Linked DNA regions of Homo sapiens: all the other regions are linked to region 7. The links are contacts of gene promoters, found by promoter capture Hi-C in blood cells and fetal thymus (Javierre and others, 2016). All regions are on one chromosome and are shown on one strand. Each heading gives the region's core, a stretch centred on a gene start or on the middle of the fragment in contact. The rest is flanking DNA. Distances are from core to core; before and after follow the strand shown. Region 1 has its middle 20 kb from the start of LINC00382. Region 2 has its middle 170 kb from the start of LINC00377. Region 3 has its middle 3.3 kb from the start of LINC00382. Region 4 overlaps LINC00382 (long intergenic non-protein coding RNA 382). Region 5 has its middle 29 kb from the start of LINC01038. Region 6 has its middle 230 kb from the start of LINC00377. Region 7 holds the start of SPRY2 (sprouty RTK signaling antagonist 2).

Region 1 (2,700 bases), core at 113-2,612, 490 kb after region 7:
TTTGTATCCTGAAAAAGAACATTCTTCTCACTCTGTAATTATCAGTCTTTCTATCACCTTCCTTTTTTCCTGTTCCAAACAAAATTATTCAGTCTGCTTACCTTTCCCCTGACAAATCCTGCCATTTCAAAGTTAATTGCTTCTACTTCCATTACACACCTGCCTTGTTTTATTTTGTCTATTAACTATGCTTTCTTGTAAGTAGATTTTATCTATTCCACTTGTCCCCTTTCCCTTCTTATTAATGAACTCCCTAGCACTGGCATCAGCTGAGGATTATCCTTCAACCCAAGCTTCTTAAACCAGTCTCCAAATTATTTGCTGCTTAGATCATTGCTCTTGGCATCCTCCTTGCTAATTCACCTTTGTTAGGAAACTCTTGTCTCCGAAAATATCCCTTTCTTGCAGAGTATAGGAAGGAATTATTCCTTCAAACAATTTTTTTAACTACTCTTTCTTTTGAGCTGGCTTTATTTTCTCCTCCCTTTGAATGTCTAGCAGCATGTGTCTTTCAGCTAGAACTGCACAATGTCTATACCTCTGGCAGGTAAAAGGAGGAAAAAGGCACACCTCAAGGTACTCTTCCAAAAGGAATCAAATAGAAGTCCTCCAAGCTCCATTCCTCTGGGTAGGCTGAGCACAGGCTGGTTTCCTTCAGGAAGAATAATTCTGACTTTTCTAATTGTTATGCTCCACTGGCATTCCTCACTTTCCATATCTGAATACTGTATAGGTTGATTGTTTTTCTCCTTAAATGTACTTTTTTTTTTTTTTTGAGACGGAGTCTTGCTCTTGTCACCCAGGCTGGAGTGCAGTGCCATGATCTCGGCCCACTGAAACCTCTGCCTCCCGGGTTCAAACAATTCTCCTGCCTCCGCCTCCCGAGTAGCTGGGATTACAGGCACCTGCCACCACACCTGGTTAATTTTTGTATTTTTAGTAGAGATGGGGTTTCACCATGTTGGCCAGGCTGGTCTCAAACTCCCTACCTCGTGATCCACCCACCTTGGCCTCCCAAAGTGCTAGGATTACAGGTGTGAGCTACCGCACCCGGCCTAAATGTACTCTTAACACTGATTCCATCTACTTATTCTGGACCTTGTTTCATGACTCACTGCAAACTATTCACCTTCTTACCTACCCCCCACCATCCCTGATTTATTTCTTTACTCAAATCTTAAACAAGATCCTTGAGATGTTTTTCGTTTGAAGGGTGTTTTTTTTTTTTTTTTTTTGAGACAGAGTCTCGCTCTGTCACCAGGCTGGAGTGCAATGGCAGGATCTCTGCTCACTGCACCTCCGTCTCCCGGGTTCAAGCGATTCTCCTGCCTCAGCCTCCCGAGTAGCTGGAACTACAGGCAAGCACCAGAACGCCCAGCTAATTTCTGTATTTTTAGTAGAGACGGGGTTTCACCATGTTGGCCAGGATGGTCTCGATCTCTTGACCTCGTGATCTGCCCGCCTCAGACTCCCAAAGTACTGGGATTACAGGCGTGAGCCACTGTGCTCGGCTGAAGGGTGTTTTTATGTGGGGCCTCCTTTTGATTTTGTTTTGAACCCTTACTTATTACTGTGGCGAGTTGCATCTCCAGGGCTCCATGCTTTGTTTGGCTGAATTTCTCCCTTCACTACTAAGTAATTGGCTCATAACTGATCATGTTCAAATTTGTCTCCTTATTCACAATGGATTCAGCAGACAGTGAGGGCTACTGGGTTAAAATCCAAAGGATTTTAACATGGAGAGAACCCTAGATGCTATCTAACACAATCTGTTCTCCAACACTGATGTCTTTCTGCCCATACACAGACACTTCTCTTGACAGGAAGCTCACTGCTCTACAAGACAACACTTCCCACTCGTAGACATTCCAATGTTCTACCACGTGTTTCCTAATGGTTAAATTAAATCTAGCTCACTGCAGTTTTCACATTTGTATACTACTTTTTCCCTTTGAGGTGCTATGCAAAAATATTGAATCGGTATTCCCTGACATTCAGTATTTCGAGATATTTTACAATAGATATCCTAAATCTTTGAGGATTACTCTTTCCCAGACCAGTTATCCAACATTCTTTCAACTATTGATCAACTGTCTTGGCTTCTACTTTCCTTACAGTCTCCATAGAGTAACAGCATGCTCATGTCCCTTCTGATCCACATGACCTGGAACCAAATGCAGTGTTCCCCCAGGGTCTGACCAGACCAGAGCATGGTGTAAGGAGATGATTATTTAGTTCTATTCATTAGCCTAAGATTGCATTAGCTTTTAGAATCCTTTCTTTATAGTGACTCATAAGATGTTTTATTCATAATTTTATGAGTTATTTCTGAATCAGGTGTCCTTTACCCTAGAAATATATGGCTAATTTTTGGAATCTAAATGTAAGCCTTCACATTTAGATTTATTAAAATGCATTTTATAAAGCTTGGGCCATCTTTTCAATTTTTAGTTCTTTTTACATTACAGCCGTAACAGTCAGCTTACTTATTCTGCCTCAATTTTCTTTAGCTGTAAGTTTGGTAAGCACTTAACCTCCTTTATCATAATGCAAATTATTAGCAAAAATGTTGAGTCAGGGCCAAGAATACAAACCAAACAATTCCATTGAGGTCGGTATCAATTAAACAACCAGCACTCTTTAGGTCCACCACTTTCCAGGAGCTCTAATTCTCTGGAACACAGAGTACTGCCCACATTT
Region 2 (2,971 bases), core at 387-2,886, 500 kb before region 7:
AGGCCTGGAGTTTTGCCAGCAATGAATGAACAGCTGGGCTTATCTGAGACTCAATGTGAGTATCTACACATGGTTTTCCCAGTAAGCTGTCTTCAGTATCCTTAAACTTTGTATCTGATGACCAGGGCTCCGAAAGAAAACACTGCAAGAAATAGGAAGTAGAAACTGCTAATTTCTTAAGGCCTAGGCTCAGAAGCTGGTGCGGCATCACTTCTGGCATATTCTTCACAGAGCCTAACGAGATTCAAGGCAAGAAAGAACCAGCTCTTAATAGGAAGGATGACTAACAATTTATGATGATCTTTAATCCATCAAATTCTTAATGAGGATGCTAACATCATTTCATCTTAATTATAATATGATCATGGATGTTGCAGACGCTTTTATGCCTTTTACTGGGATATAAAATTTTCTTCCATTCCCAATTTGATAATTTTTTAGTGAAACATTCTAAATAATTTTTCTTTATCTACTGAAATTATTGTATGGATTTTCCTTTAATATGGCATATTAGGATATAGATTCAACAACGATAAAAGAATCTCAAGTAAGAATGGGTTCAAGATCAAAGTTTACTTTTATTTAATAGGCCAGTATGAAGAGTGCAAGTCTTATACAGAATGTGCTCCAGACTCCTTCTGCGTTGTTGTGGCTTCATATTTATATTGTTTCTAAGGGCATTATACATAATTTCAACATTTCTATAAGCATAAATTGAAAACAGAATGAAATCAGGTAAGCTTCTTACCATTTAAGAGAACTAACAGTTACATACATCATTCTGTTTCACAGCCTTTTGGCCAGAATTTAGTCCCATGGCAGTATGTATTTGCAAACAAGTCTGGGGAATGTAGTGTACTATTCTTGGAAAGCACATGCCCACATTTTTTAAAAAATGTACTTCTTGGAATGCCTATGTTTAGATAAAAATTGCACATATATCTATATCTATATATCTATATATTATATATGGAATATGGAGAAATTAATTATCATGAAACAATAAATACCCTTAACATGCATGATGAGTTACACTAATCAATTTTTTTCCTGCTACTAGATTATATAACATCTTTTAGTATAGAGTCCAATCATCCATTTTTATATATGATAAAATATTTCACACAGTATCTTAAAGGTAAGAGGTACTCAATGTCTATATAATATTTGTATGGATATAGACACTGATATGAAGGAATGCACACATACATAAATCAGTGAATACCCAACCTTTGTAATAACAAAGTATCTCCTGCATTAATTCATGCTTTCATTTATGGGGTAAACGCAACTGGCTCATTCTGAATCATTATTTTTTTAGACTGTGCTACTTTTCTTTGATATTATTTGGCTTAAGACTTTTTTTATAAGAAAGATCTTTTTTTCTTAAACTGCCCTGGTCATTTTATCAAAGTTATGCCTGATTTGGGAGTAAAATTATTTTTAAAAATTTTTTAGATGTTAGAAATATTTTCTTAAAGTTAGGACCACTTGTTGCAAGAAGAAACCACCAACCTAAAATCTCTTGAGTGACTAAGTTTTTCTTACCATAGAGATACCTGTATTAACACAACATGAAGTGAGGTTGACTGTTTTTCTTTCCTCCAAATGCCAAGTTTAACAGAGGTTTTAGCTGTTACATTATTTGTTTGGTTTTGCTGTAACTTTCTGCTTAGTTTTATTCCCTTTCATCTTCATAATGCCAATAAAAATCATTTTCCAGCTTTATATGAGGAGTCTCTTATTTGGTCTCCTCAGCCTTCATAGACTTTATCTCCCTACTCTCATCCCAAACATCTGTCAGAGCAGAAATTCGAGTTATTTAGGCTTTTTTTTTCAGTAACTATGAATGCAAAAGCAAACTTGGATGGTTTTATAGCTTCTAGATATTCTTCATTTCATTTTTATTCTCTGTGGGATTAGTTCTGTCTTGTCCCATCAGTGATGAAAGATAAACAGATTTCGTATCTCTGATACACATGCACGTGCACACACACACACACACACACACACACACACACACATACACCAGCTTTTGCGTTGCTGTTAGTGGGAAAGTCAGTCAGGTACCAGGTTTGCTTTATTGCCAGAAAGAGAAGTGACAAGATGACTAGACCATCTCGCTTCTTTTTCCTTCATTCAGAATCTTTTTCGTTAAATAGGATCAATTATTTAACAGAGATGGACCTCGTGGACATTATGCCAGGAATAGAAAGACAAATTCTGCATTATCTCAGTCATATGTGGAATTTTAAAATAGCCAGACTCATAGAAGCAGAGAGTAGAATGGTGGTTGCCAGGCACTGAGGTAGGTGGAAATGAGAAGGTGTTGATCAAAGGTTATAACATTTCAGATAAGCAAGATAAGTAAGTTCGGAAGATATACTGTACAATGTAGGACCTATGATTAACCTCTGGCTTAAGTATTGTATACTTAACATTTACTAAGGGGATAAATCTCATCTTAAGTGCTCTTACCAAAAAAGAAAAAAAAACTCAACTGAAAGTGAGGGGCAGACCGAAGGAAGCTTTTGGAGGTAATGGGTACATTTATTACATTTATTGTGGCAGTGTTTCACAGGTGCTTACTTATTTTCAAACATATCAAGTTGTATATATATATGAAATATCGACAGCATTTTATATATCAATCATGCTTCAATAAAAAGCTTTAAAAATAAAGAAATATACCTTATTACATGACTCAGTTCCTCATAAATCTTTCACTGTCCATCACTGACTGCAGAATGCTGTTCCTGCTCCTTAACTATGTATTGCAGAGATGCCTAACATGGCCTCAATTGACCATTCTTTGGTTTCCTGCAACTTTTTCCCCCTCAATTCATGTTTCTTTGAATATAACATGGGCTACTACTCAGAGCAGTCTCAATTACTTCATGAAAATTCTCTTCACTTTCTTGCTTGCTGCCTATGATACTGAGATGCTGTCTACCTGGATTGCTTTTTGTTC
Region 3 (2,700 bases), core at 185-2,684, 470 kb after region 7:
AACCCTGTGCTACAATATCTAATAAACAATGTCAAGTCTTGATCATTAGCATCTACACTTAATTTAATATGAGCAACAGGCCACAGAAGCTTCTATAGGCTTCTAGATTGTTTTCCTCAATCTGTGTGAAGTTGCTAATTATCTGTTGTTAATGAAAACAACCCTGTAAGCAGCTGAAGAAATGGATTGGAAATAGTAGTTTGAAGTCCAGTAAAGAAACACAGGTGTTGCTGTGTTCAATTAAAGCCTAACAAGAAACTTAGTGGGATAAAAGGGTGGGAGGTGGAACAGGAAAAGGGAAAAATGACATCATCCTCTGCTGGAACTGTTGGAGAAAGGAGAAAAGCCAGAAAATAGCTTACTAAGCACTTCCTAATAAGGAATTTGTAAAGCTGAAGATTTGCAGGACTAACTTTTGTCCACAAAACAATTTACATTTCAAAAAACTAATTTGTGAAAAGATTTTCTTTTAAAAACAGTAGAAAGTCATAGTGGTCAAAGTTAAAGCAAAGACTAGATTTTGAAGCAGGCAATAAATTATAAATTGAGGGGTTGTTTTTGTTTTTGTGGAGGGCAAGGCGGGGGAATAGATTCTATTTAATTTGTTAAAGGTTGATATTTGTACACTGAAAACAGTGTTTTGTAGTACCTTATGGTGTAGGCACTTTACCTGTGTTACTGCAGTAGGGATTTTAAAAAAAAACATCTTTTTGGTATGTTTTTAACAATAATAGTGTACTTCTCAGAAGTCTTTTAAACAATAGTCAATGTTCCAGAATTGAGATACATGTACTGTTGACTTCTCACTTGAACACTAATTCTCTTATTCTTGTTAGGAATTCCATGTAATACAGAAAGAACGGCAACGTTTATTTTGATTGCCTATTTTGCATACCACAAGGCAAGGAATTCTCAGGTTCTGAGGAACACCTCAAAGATATGCAGAAAAGCATTACTTAAAACTTTTTCAGGAAGCTCTTTGCCCCCCTTCCCATCTCCGTCACCTTTAAATCCAGGTATATTTGTAGTAGGAATTTGTTCTGTGGAACCCTGCAGCAATATTTCCCTTCATTTCCATGACAACAGCTCTCTATCAACTTCTGAAGGAACTTGCCTGTATTGTAAACAAACCTCTCTTGGCAATTGGCCTGTTTTCTCTCTCTATCTCATCTTCCATCTGCTCAAAGGCTTTGCTTCAAAAAGAAATAGGTTGCAGGTGTGTACTTTTTCTTTCTCTATCTCCCTCCCCCTTTGTTTCTGAAAGAGGTCAATCTCGGAGATTAAAATTCCCTCAACTAGTGAAATTAACAGTCTCGTGGAGCGAGCCTGAGTACCTGTGTGTACCTGGTAATGAATATTTGGAGCGTATCAACACATAGCATGTTTGGTTCCATTTTAACACAAGCCTCCTCAGAAATAAGCAGACTAACACATTTCATGAAGTGAATTCCAACTACAGGAAAAAATAAGAAATGATTCATGTCAGGCAAAAATAAATCCAAAATAAGTTTTGTTTCCGAATCTTTCATTAAGTCAAAAGTACCTAAGCTATTATAGAAATATTATATACTATATTTATATTATATATATTATATATAATAGAAATAGCTTAGCATTAATAACAGAAATAAAATCTTACCCTGAGCAAGGTGAGAAAAAATGTTTTTGTTTACTTGTTGGGAAAAAAAAAGTCTCTTATACCTTTAACTTGAGAGTTTCATGACCTCACACCAGAGTACAACTTTAATCTTCAGGACTTGAAATGTAGGTCAGTGATTTGTCCAATCTAATAAATTTGACATTTTTGTAAGTTCATTTACCTACACTGTTCTTTTTTTTATTCATTATCACAGCTGTTGAATCAAGTGACTGCTAGAACAAACCGAATTGTCTGGCATTATTTAAGACACCAAAAACCAAAGAAAAAAGGAGGAAAAAAAAGATAAATTTTCTTTATTAAACATAAAGTTTGAAGAGAGATAACCGGAAAAAAAGTATTTGGCTAGAATTATAGAGAGATTTGGGGGCATATGAACCACATTCTCAGGTTTCTATTGGAAATGTTGTTATATTTGCTTGTTTTGTCCTTAATTTTCCTTAAGAGTCATGAGGAGGGACCACCTCACTAATAATATCTGAAGAAAGGTCTTTTTTTAAATTTATTTTTAATTGACAAGTGAAAATTGTATAGATGCATGGCACACAATGTAATGTTCATTTATATACAGTGCAATGATTAAGTAAAGCAAATTAACGTATTCATCACCTCACATCATTATCATTTTGGGGGATGATTTTTGATATCTCCAGAAAACCCCTGATTTGTGAAGCCTGATGTATCTTCTCTTAGATAAACAATAGAAAACAACAAAAACAATAACACGTTATATTGAATTTCCAGTATGTTTTTATTTTTCTGTTGATACTTATATTATCTAAACCTAAAGTACAGTACTAATAACAATAGACTTCTTTTAATTTTAAAGCATCTTCATGTCTTTTTCTCATTTTATGATATGGTCTTTTATCTGTATAATTACAAAAATAATTTTATAAGAAGAAAATCCCAAATTCAGCATAGCCATAAAAACAAACAACAAGAAGAATCCTTACATCTTTCTTGTTGAAAGTACCCAGTTATTGTCTAATTCTTTGTCATGACAAAAATCATTAGTTATTCAAGACACAATGCCTGTAACA
Region 4 (2,775 bases), core at 56-2,555, 440 kb after region 7:
GTTAAGTGTGGAGAGGGAGAAATAATTATGAAATCTAGATGGGGCCTTTCTTTCTAAGAGTATTTGAAAACAGATATCTACATATCTGTATATACTTATATATACACACATACATGCATGCAAATATATGTGTATATATATATACACACACACATTTTACATTTGGCTTAGGCCCTGAGCTCATTCAACAAAAACTGGTATGCCCAAAAGAGTAATAGAGTATAACTAGCATAATATGACTGCTCAATGAAATCAGCTGTGTAGGTTGCCAAAGGAACAGCATCGTTTTATGGAAAGAGTTCTGATTATAAAGCAGATGCAAGAATAACCCCAGAGTGACAAGGCATGGTGGCTCATGCCTGTAATCCCAGCACTTCGGGAGGCCAAGGCAGGCAGATCACTTGAGTTTAGGAATTGGAGACCTGCCTGCCTGGCCAATGTGGAGAAACCTTGTCTCGACTAAAAGTACAAAAATTATCTGGGCATGGTGGTGCACGCCTGTAGTCCCAGATATTTGGGAGGCTGAGGCACGAGATTCTCTTGAACCCAGGAGCTGGAGGTTTCAGTGAGCTGAGATCGCAACACTGCACTCCAGCCTGAATGACAGAGTGAGACCCTGTCTCAAAAACTACAATAATATTATTACTAATAAAATAATCCCAGGGAAGTCCTAGGAACACAGGAAATAGACATCTAACAAGGTGTGGGCTGGTCATGAGGTATCAAGGGCTAAGTCTGCTCAAGGTAATTCAATTCCATTAAAATGTACCTGTCACATCCTCCACTAAAGTATTATTCTAGATTATGCAGAAGACACCAAGGCTAGTGATGCAGGGGGCTTGCTGTCATGAAATCTATGATCTTGGTAGCTGGATGGAGGAGAGAGTTGGTAGGAGGAAATATATTAGGTGGAATATATTTCTAGGCAGCTAGAATTAGAATCAAAATTTCAATGTAGTCAAAAAGCACACCTCTCTGAAAGTAGAACTCAAACTATCTCAACCTCTCTGAAACCTAGGGAGACCTCCGGGTTTCCTTCTTACTATGCCTTCTTTATCTCATCTTTATGGAATCCATTTCCTCCCCTTAAGAGCACCTTCACTACTGAGCACTCCTTGTTGTTAATACCACCTCGCTCTAATTGTTCATGCATTCCAGCTCAGCTATTAAGTATGGTTATACCTAGTTGTATGTTTCCATGGTGTGTTTAATTTTACATATTTCTGCAGTGGCTGCACATTCTTGAGAAGATGCATGTACTTTTCTACCTTTTGCATAAGATGGTAAGTTCCTTCAAGGACAAAAACTTTATCCTCTTCCTTAGAAGGCCCCACATCTTCTCATAAAGCATTTGACACTTTAGGTATGCATAAATCTGCTATTCTTATGTTAATCCACGCTTATTACAGAAGCACAAATTTGAGTTCTTTTTCATCCTCTGGATCCTAATTTTTTTGTTCTCAATAATGGACAAGGGCTCTGTGAGAGAATCTCTGAGAATCTTTCCTCATGGATGGTGGTCTGATACAGTTATCTGGTTGGAGACAGAGAGTCTTTGAGGAAACTGATCCAATCAAGTCAGATCCTCTCTGATATGATTTGGATGTGTGTCCCCATTCAAATCTCATATTGAAATGTAATCCCCAGTGTTGAAGATGGGACCTGGTGGGAGGTGACTGGATCATGGGGGCAGATTTCGCATGAATGGTTTAGTACCATCCCCTTGTTGCTGTCCTTGTGATAGTGAGTTCTCATGAGATCCAGTTGTTTAAAAGTGTGTAGCCCCTCCCCTCTCACTCTCTTTCTCCTGCTCTGGCCCTGTGCCATGCCTGCTCCCTCTGTCTTCCACCATGACTGTAAGTTTGCTGAGGCCTACCTAGAAGCTGAGCAGATGCCAGCATCATGCTGCAGCCTCAGAACCATGACCCAATTAAACCTCTTTTCTTTATAAATTATGCTGTCTCATGTATTTCTTTATAGTAATGTGAAAACAGACTAATGCAGTCTTCAAAAGCTCAGTGACCCTGGAAAGAAACATGTCCAAGGGGTTCAAAGACGCCACTAGTCCCAGAATAGATTAGGTGTATGTAATGCTAATATGAGTTTAGTGGGGATAAGGACAAAACATATAATCAGTCAGCACTCAGCAAAATTTAGTCTTTCATTATCTCTCTTGTGTCAGTAAAGTGTTCATCTCACATAGAATGAAAAGGGTCTATGCACATTGAAATAGAGTCACCAAAGAATCATGGAGTAAACAATCTGAGTGCTATCCATGACACCTGAATGAAGCTGATTCAGAGAAAACCTATGCCTTCTGGTGCACTTTCAAGGCAAGACCAGAATTCCACGACAAACTTCTCATCAAGAAATCAAATCTGTTCTTCTCCGCTTGCATCTTAGTGGCCTTGTGCCAGTGTTGACCAATATAGCAGAAGTGATTTCCAAGGTTAGGTCACAAAAGGCCATGCAGCTGCCATCTTTTTTGCTGGAATGCACATTCATAAGGTCAGCTACCCAGAGGCTACCATGCTGAGAGTAAGCTCGAGCCACATGGACAGCCCATGTGTCAGAGCTCTGTTTGATAAAACTATCTGAGCCCAGCCTTTAGGTCATGTCAGCCCGGGTGCCAGACATGTAAGTGAAGAAGCCTCCAGATGAATGTAGCCTCTCACGGTTTGATTTATGCCCCGTATTTCAAATCTTCCCAAGCTGAAGCTTCCGACAGGTGAAGCAGAAACAAGCTATCTCTGCTGTGCTGTCTGAATTCCTAAT
Region 5 (2,725 bases), core at 93-2,592, 510 kb after region 7:
GTTTATTACCTCTCTTTAATAAACAGTGGCAATAACAGGAACTTTTATGGACAGGTTTTGTTCCTTCCAGCTTTAGCTTTGTCCACAGAGCTGGTGGGAACCCCTGCAGGACACTCCTAAATGGATAAATTTACAATCTGGCCCCTGTAAAGTGCTCCAAGCCACATCTCATCCAAGTTGCCTTTGTGCTTTTCTCACCACCTGTGATGCCAGGGGGCACAGGGTCAGAGCCAGAGTCACCCCCAACTCACACATGCACCAGCTCACTTCCAGAGGATTCAACCTTTTCCCATTTATCTGAAGGCTGAAGGCTTCTTTAGATTTCCTGGCTTCCTGCTTTGCTGAGATGTCTGGATATTTATCTATTTTTCTCCTTTTGGAAACATCTGCCCAGATTTCTCCAGATTCAGCAACAGAAAAATAAACTCAGTTAGAAAATGAAGTAACATAACATGATCCCCTTGGGGCCCTCAACATCTGCTTTTCTCTGTTGTGTTTTTAATTTGGTCATTCCTCTGCAAAAACGTGCAATGGACCAGTGTTTCAAGTAAACAAATAAAGGTAGGGCCTTCTTTTAAATGCCTAGTAATCTACCATAATATCCAGCCCTCTTTAGGAAAAACAAGTAATAAATGTGTATTGCAAGCTTTTTTCTCTCCTCTTTACTTTGGGTTCCATTATTCATTAAGAATTTGAAGTAGTCAGGCTTATCTAGGTTAGGTCGCAATAAAGAAAAAAAATTAACCCTAAATCTCACTGGCTAAAACAGTAAGTTTACTTTTTATTTTTCTATTTTTAACATCACACTTGTGGTTCAGATAGCCACCCTAGCTGGCTCCCCAGAATACTCCAGAATTCCGCCTTACTCCTCTACTATAAAGAAGTCCCCATAATACTTCCATTGCTGGGGAGATATAGGGACGGTCTTCACTGCCACCGGATCCATACCGAATCTTGTCTTAGGAAGTGACGGCTAAACAAAGAGCTTTCTTTATAAAGCCATCAATTGAAAAAAAAATTAAAAAACTAATTTATCTTTCATAATAACTAAGTTTCGAAAGTAATTAGGGAAGGAATGGCAGAAGGAGTCACTGATTGCCTCATTGAGAGTACTTTTTATTATCAGATTATCTGTGAATTTATCATAGAATCTTTTATTTGTGTAAGGCCAGCGAGATACACTGACCACTCATTTGTGCTACGTTTCAATTGGGGTCCTGCTGGTTTTTATTTTATTTTTTTCTGACAGGGTATTTTTCTCATATTGGTATAATCATATATATGAAAAATATAATTATATATATTTAGTAAGTATAGTACTGTATCAAATATACACACAGACACACACATATGTATATATACACATACACATATGTGAATATGCTATTCTGAAATTAACCAATAAGAGAAAACACTGACCCCGTCTATGTATTGCATTTTTCTTTGGTGTCTGCTGGGTTTTATTTTGCTTTTTTCTGATAGGATGTTTTTCTTTTATTGGTGTATTGATATGTGTGTGTGTTTGTGTGTGTGTGTGATATAACTGTATATAAAATATATTTATTGGTATATTCCTTTATATATAATTATATAAATAATGATGTTATAATTATGTAAAGGAATTATATATGTTTTATAGTATATATAATTACAATTTTTAACATGAGGAAAATGAAGCATTTCTCTAGCTTTCCATAGTTTCTCTTAACTTTTATTTCTATTTTTATGTATTTCTTTTGTGCATGTGTATATTTAAATTGTTTCTTTTTTAATTAACAAATAGAAATTGTATATATTTATGGTTTACAACATTTTGAAATAGGTATACATTATAAAATGGCTAAATAGTGCCCTACACTATCAATACTGACATCTTTACACCTGAGTACAGCCCACCCTGAAAGAAGAAGACCCCAACATAAGTATGAGTGTAATTTCAGCCCCTAAATCCACTTGTCTAGAAAGTTTCCAGAAGGAGATGGGCTATCCCATCACAAAATAGTAATCAGGATTACACTGAGTGCGTGGAGGAAGCTTGAATAAATGCAGGACAGAGCACTCTTCCATTTAATGGACTGAGGCGAGCATAAAAGTTTGGTCCAAGCCAGTGTAGATGGGCTTTATTCTTTAACAATTGTAACTTATCCATACTTTTGAGTTGACCTTACCATTGTTGGCATGGGTTTCCAACAGGTCTTAACAGAAGAATTTTACAATTGCTTGGCTTCAGTGAATGTTAACAGGAGAAAACAGGTGAGCAGGCAGGTGACTGGAATTCTGAGCCAAAGGTACCAGAAGTTTACATTGTACAGAGAACCCATCCTATTAGCAGACTCAGCTGCCAAACTTTAAAGTGATTGTCATCACATGAAACAACACTGAAAACTCTATACATAGCCCATAGAGACTAGCAGTATAACATCTATATTTAGGTGACCCAGATGGTCAAAGTTGTCCAACATTCGGAGGACACCATCTTAATTTTTATTTTGCAACTCTTCATACATACAACAACATCCAATATACAACTCAACATGGTTGACCTTTACACCCTTCTCCCTCACATTCATGCTTCTTTATAAATTAGTCAAGATAAAGGACAAGACACCCCGTCAGTTTGATATGGGTTGGTAATATACTTATAGAAATGTATTGTTAGACTCTTAAGGGTAGAGATTTCAAAGACGTAACTTTCACCAACAACAGATGGGAATAGAGCCTTGTC
Region 6 (2,700 bases), core at 44-2,543, 440 kb before region 7:
CCTCCCCCTCATCCAGGTACTAGCTCACAATCCATTTACTCTTCTAAGAAACTCTCTCTCTTCCCTTTACTACCAATATCTTCCCCTCTGCTCGTACCAGCCCTCAGTCCTAATGCTCAACACCTCATACCAGGCACACCTGCACCCACTGCCCCTTGCTCCACTTGTCAGTCTCCGGATCTCCTTTAAGAGCCATTTTAAACATCACTTCCTTCACTAAATGTCTCCAGATTTCCCCAAATAATTTGTTGAATTCAGGAAACCAAAGGAAGTATGTCTTGTCATCAAGGGTGTATTTAGGATGATGTTAAGGCTAGAGAAGTGGGCAGGAACTGTGTCAAGAATAATATGGATTGCTAAACCAACAAATCTGAACTTTATCATAGAAGTCATGGAGTTCATGAAGAACTTCAAGCAGGAATAGATTATATTAATGTTTGTGTTTTAGAAAAATTCCTCTAATTGACAATAAAGGATGGTTTGGAAACAAGAAAGACTGGAGCCAGGGGAAGTGTTGTTTTATCTCTTTCAATAATCACATAAATACACAAATAGACTGTAGATGTTTTTATGGCATAGACTGCATCTTATACTTAAGAATTTTATTACCAAATGACACTGTTATAAATTTATACTTGTAAGAATGCTCAACGTTGATGACCTATGTAAGTTTTATCACATTTTAAAGAAGAGAGGAACCAAAACAGTATGGATTTTGCACAATTAAGTTAATAACTTTTTTCTTAAAGATGTACACACAAAGACACATGCACACACATATATATACTGTAAATTACATATATATATACCTAAATTACATTGAAATTGGTATAGCCACAGATTTTTAAATCAAACTTTAACAGGATAAATAATGTGTTAGGTGTCTACGTAACCATAATTGTTTATTGCCTAAGAGGCAACACATGCTGGCACAGACGTTGAATAGAGAAAATTTAAAAATATTTCTTTGGTTCAAAGGCTATAGTTGTCATTGTTTCTAAGCTACTCCCACCACCCTCATAGTTTCCATAAATACGTGTAGGTTCTCAAAGATCTTAGTGTTATTTGTTTTCAAGAAACAAAGTTCAATGCTCATGGCAAATAAATCACACCTACCTTCTATAAATTAATTCATGACAAATTTTAAAAATTAAAGAAATTCTCAGAAAAAGCAACTAACCAAATAGTACCAAAATAAAATAAAGAACATTGAACAGGTAAAAATTATGACTTCTTTTAACCACCAAAATTAACATTAAGAATTCAGTAAATTTGAGAAAATGTGAGTGACAGGTATTTAACATAAATTATCTTCTGTCTTAAATAATCTGTGGATTGTAATACCACACACCTACACATGCATACATAAAATCCATATGCATTTCATCTATATATATTAGAATTATTATTTCATATGTAAAAGTGGTGGAATCTGAGACAACTGTCTAAATAGAACCAATGGTAGTTTTATTCCATTTTTCTAATAAACTAGGCTGGAATTTTACAGATTCAATTTAGTGCAGTAAAGTTCAGTGCAGAAGTAGGTGAGTTGAAATCTAGAAGGATTAAGATCAGGCCCTGCTATCAGTGCATATCCACAAAAAAACATCCACAAAACTAGAACAGAAAAAAAAAAAAGGCTTTTTAGTCAGGTACATTTGGATTCAAATGCGTTTCACCAATGAGTATTAAGTAACCTTGAGCAAATTTATTAATGTTTCCTGAACTTTGTTTCCTTATTTGTAAATGGAAATGATAATATTATAGTAGTCTCAAAAAAACTGTAGGGATAGTAGCCCATCTAGCAGAGTCTGAAAGCAGTGCATGTTCAATAAGAGATAGATATCACTGCAGTTTCAAACTACATTGTCAAAAATGATATGCAAATGCTATTCAAACCATCAAATAGTTAAAATGTGATTATTTCTGGAGGGGAGGATTGGAAAGAACCAATTAGCTAAGGAAGATTTTAAAAACTTAACTCTTTTTAAACTTAGTTTTTAGAAAGTATCTTTGGTAGTGGTTAGAACTGTAATACAGAAAATTGATAGGAAAGGGCATTTCAGACAGAGAGAACAGTAGATGAGATGCTAGAATATTTGGATATTTTAGGATGAATTATACTGTTTGACAAGAGTGAGTTTGGGACTTCATAAGAGTCCTGAAAACCACACCAGAAATTATACTTTGATTCTTGATATGCTTATAGCAATTAACATGTTTTAAGTAAGTGAATGTCATTAAACAACATTTTCCCATTACCAAGAATATTTTCCTTATTTTGATTTTTAAAGCTAATGAACCTATTAAAAATATCCAACAACATAATTTTTTCCTTGAGTGGATAAAATAGGAAATCATATATGTTAAAACTTATTATAAATCCCATGGCACATTACAAAATGCTTGTGAAATTTTTTTATACCCATAGCAATGCTATTTTAACAATTTTGTCACAAACAGTCTGACATTGGGAACTAGCAGCCATGAAATAATTTTTCAACATGCTTTATAAAGAAAAAATATTCCCAAATTTGAGGATGTGATATTATAAGAGACTCCAAAATTTCCCTGAACTCATGATGAACCATTCTTCCTCCCTTCTACATTGAAAGGCCTCATAGGTTCTTTCAGAACACACAAAACATTCTTGCTACTGCATTAAAAAAAACACAGGCTGATCCCCCACCCAGTAAACAT
Region 7 (2,881 bases), core at 207-2,706:
TCGCAGGTGCTATTCGGGAATTTTGACCGTACAAGCAGGTACTTCCCTGTAAAGTAAAAGCATTCTGTAAGTCGCTCGACAGAATGCAATATTAGGCGTGTGTATGCGCAAGTTTTAATTTTCCACTGGTGCTCCCACGTGAAGGCACATTTCTTAGTAAATGAACGGCAGCTAGGACAGTGCATATGTATGCATTTTCTATCTTTATTTTTTTTTTGTAAATGGGAAAGAATAGTGCACCTTCAACATGGACAACAGAATCTTGAGAAATGTTCTAGGTGGCAAGAAAAGTGGGAAATGAAGGATGACTTTTAGTTAAGGGAAGAAGGAAATCTGCAGTGAGCCAACCCTTCCCTCCCCCCCGCCCCCCCATTTCGGAAGCCCATGCTGTCGCCCTGAGTAATCTTGTTCCTGTCTATTAATGAATTAAGTTAAAAGGCTTAGACTGTAGACTTTAGCTACTGCATGAAGCAAAATAGTAAGGAAGCTCTTCAAAAAGCCTCCATTCATAGATAACCCCCCTTAAAAATGAAATTCTAATAAACGGAAAAACTACAAGTCGACACAATCAAAAGCAAATCCCAGCAAGAGCAGAAGGTACTTGAAACTCGAATCTGCATTCCGTTCCTCCCGTACAAGGCTCGGAGGTGGGGGAGGCGGTTTGTGCTGGTGCCTGGTGTATAATCGGGTTAATCCAGTAGACAAAGAATAAACCAATAGCCCTCCCACCTCACTTCCCGCTCCCCTTCCCCTCCCCCTTCTTCTCCCCCCGCCCCAGCCCCCGTCACCCGCTCCGCAAAGGGGAACAGAAAAGGGGAGAGGTAGACTTGAAATGGATTCTGGATAAAGTCTTAAAACCTGCAACTTGTTTTTCATGCTAACACTGCGTGGCCCAGATTAGTCTTAAATGTTCATTCCCCTTTCCTGGTGGCAAGGAGAAAGTTCCCTAAGTCAGCTCGAGCCTCTGGCTCGTCCTCATTGCCTCTGGGCAAACCTTAAGGTCAGTGTTTCCTTGAAACTAGATAAACTGACCCTGCAGTGCCCAGCCCGGCCCCGCGGGCGCCCCGCGTGACGGCGCTCGGGCGGCAGGACCGGCCTGGGGACGCGCGGGGCGGCGCGGTTGCCCTTTTGAATGCCTCCTGCGGCTCGGAGCGCTGGCGGGCGCTGGAGTGTGAGTGAATGTAGCCCCGCGGAGCCAATGAGCTGGGACCGGATGCGATATATCCTCTGGGACAACAACTGCTCTGTTCCGCCTCGGATCCACATGACGCCATTTACTGCTGCCGCGGCCGCCGCAGAGCTCCCTGCCTCCTCCGGAAAGGCGAGGGCGCAGGCCAACGGCGAGCCCCCCCCGGGCGGGCCCCAGACCCTCCTCCTCCTCCTCCTCCTCCTCTTCCTCCTCCTCCGCACCCACCGCCCCCGCCTCGGCCTCGCTGCCTCGCCTCCACAACGCCCAGTCTGCACCGCCGAGAGCTGCGCGCCGCAGCGCTAGCGGAGGAGAGGGGCCGGCGGAGCGCGCAGCGCCCAGGCCCCCGCGCCCGCCCGGCCCGGCCCGGCCCGCGCCCCCGCGCCGCCTCCGCTACGACGCGGCCCCGGCCGCACCACTTGGCGATCTGGCTTTAGGTTCTCCGTAAGGCCGTTTTCTTTTCCCATTCGCTCATCTGCCAGGAAAAGGGACTTGCCGTTGGCGCTTCGGCCTCTTGTTCATTGAGAAAAAAGAGGAAATACTCCGCGTGCGCTTGTAGAAGGGGAGTCGTCTCCAGCTCCGAACCCCGGAGTGTTCATCAGCGGGGAATCTGGCTCCGAATTCTCTTTTTTTCTCCCGCCGATTGCTCGGAAGTTGGTCTAAAGCAGAGGTTGGAAAGAAAGGAAAAAAGTTTGCATCGAGACTGGATTTATTTGCACATCGCAGAAAGAAGAGAATCCAAGGGAGAGGGGTTGGTGCAAAGCCGCGATCACGGTGAGGCACGTTTGGCTCTTCCCCTCCTGGCGCCGCGGCCGGCGCGTTGTGGGCAACATGGAGTAGGTGCAGCCGGACCAGGAGTTGGGTCCGTCTCTCCCCGAGCCTCCCTTTCTCAAATCCCGCAGGGTCTTCGCGAGGATCCGGGGCGCTCCCCGCGGACCTGCCTCGCCCGGGGCTTGGGCTCGGCCTGCCTCTGCGGGGACTTCTGTATGCACCCCGTGCAGTGTCCCCGACAGGCGACCCCGCGCGCCCGCGCTCTAGGGGGTTGGGACGGAGGACAGCTAGCCTGAAGTCTGCTCCCAGCCGTGCACTGGCCGCGAATTCGGCGCTGAGAGCGGGAGAGGGAGAGAAAAACACTTTGTATTTTCCAGGTTGCCTTTGCAGGCGCCCGCATTTCTAACCTGTTCTTCCTCTTGGTGGAAGGCAAAGTCCAGGGAGAGGCTGTCCCTAGGCGGGGCGCTGGTGGGGCTGGGGGACACAGGTTGCCCGCCTCGGGGGCAGGAGACTTCCAGGGTGAGAAAAAGGCAGGGTGCCGGGTGGAGGGAGTGCCCGCCTCTGCTCCGTGTGGACAGTCTAGCCCGGAGCGGGTGGGAGCGTCGCCCTGCCTGGCGCCGGGTCTCTGCGGTTCGGAAGTGCAGCTCTCTCTCTTCCGTTCTTCGTGGTCAGCCTGGGTCACACTTATTTTATTTTTGGAAGCTCGGGCTGACCCAGCGCAGGAAGAAAGTCATCAAGCGGTCGCGATCATTTTCCATTACCTGAAAGTAGGTGGCAAAATAGGCAATTTTTTATTTCCTTTTGTTGTTGTTGTTGCTGTGTTTTAATTTGGATTCTTGTGTGTTTTTTACAAAGCAGTTTCTGTGTCCGTTTGCCCCACCCTAGAGCTGAAGTTCTTTTCCCCTAATCCTCAGTCTGATCACA

Evidence for each region. Contacts are between HindIII fragments. The CHiCAGO score rates a contact against its expected background, and 5 or more counts as called.
Region 1: a contact is called between a fragment that was not itself captured here and the fragment with the promoter of SPRY2 in region 7, in 4 of 17 cell types (M0 macrophages, M1 macrophages, monocytes and 1 more). The highest score is 8.1, in M0 macrophages.
Region 2: a contact is called between a fragment that was not itself captured here and the fragment with the promoter of SPRY2 in region 7, in 2 of 17 cell types (total B cells and naive B cells). The highest score is 5.6, in total B cells.
Region 3: a fragment that was not itself captured here is called in contact with the fragment with the promoter of SPRY2 in region 7 in 6 of 17 cell types (monocytes, neutrophils, M0 macrophages and 3 more); the score reaches 10.2 in monocytes.
Region 4: a fragment that was not itself captured here is called in contact with the fragment with the promoter of SPRY2 in region 7 in 5 of 17 cell types (M1 macrophages, M0 macrophages, endothelial precursors and 2 more); the score reaches 5.7 in M1 macrophages.
Region 5: a fragment that was not itself captured here is called in contact with the fragment with the promoter of SPRY2 in region 7 in 1 of 17 cell types (M1 macrophages); the score reaches 5.5 in M1 macrophages.
Region 6: a fragment that was not itself captured here is called in contact with the fragment with the promoter of SPRY2 in region 7 in 1 of 17 cell types (naive B cells); the score reaches 6.2 in naive B cells.

What each region holds. Positions count from the first base shown.
Region 1 is chr13:79,851,056-79,853,755 of GRCh38, reverse strand. No RefSeq gene overlaps it. Among named protein-coding and RNA genes, the nearest start is that of LINC00382, 20 kb to the left of the region's middle. The HindIII fragment of the contact is 2,133 bases long and covers 296-2,428 here.
Region 2 is chr13:80,842,215-80,845,185 of GRCh38, reverse strand. No RefSeq gene overlaps it. Among named protein-coding and RNA genes, the nearest start is that of LINC00377, 170 kb to the left of the region's middle. The HindIII fragment of the contact is 1,788 bases long and covers 743-2,530 here.
Region 3 is chr13:79,867,916-79,870,615 of GRCh38, reverse strand. No RefSeq gene overlaps it. Among named protein-coding and RNA genes, the nearest start is that of LINC00382, 3.3 kb to the left of the region's middle. The HindIII fragment of the contact is 2,686 bases long and covers 92-2,700 here.
Region 4 is chr13:79,895,411-79,898,185 of GRCh38, reverse strand. All of the region lies in intron 1 of LINC00382 (long intergenic non-protein coding RNA 382), which reads right to left. Among named protein-coding and RNA genes, the nearest start is that of LINC00382, 24 kb to the right of the region's middle. The HindIII fragment of the contact is 2,831 bases long and covers 1-2,720 here.
Region 5 is chr13:79,831,913-79,834,637 of GRCh38, reverse strand. No RefSeq gene overlaps it. Among named protein-coding and RNA genes, the nearest start is that of LINC01038, 29 kb to the right of the region's middle. The HindIII fragment of the contact is 1,388 bases long and covers 649-2,036 here.
Region 6 is chr13:80,784,400-80,787,099 of GRCh38, reverse strand. No RefSeq gene overlaps it. Among named protein-coding and RNA genes, the nearest start is that of LINC00377, 230 kb to the left of the region's middle. The HindIII fragment of the contact is 2,893 bases long and covers 1-2,700 here.
Region 7 is chr13:80,339,701-80,342,581 of GRCh38, reverse strand. It overlaps SPRY2 (sprouty RTK signaling antagonist 2), which reads left to right and starts at 1,456. Exons shown (of 2, transcript NM_005842.4): 1 at 1,456-1,960. RefSeq lists silencers at 1,039-1,088, 1,319-1,508. The HindIII fragment of the contact is 9,098 bases long and covers 1-2,881 here.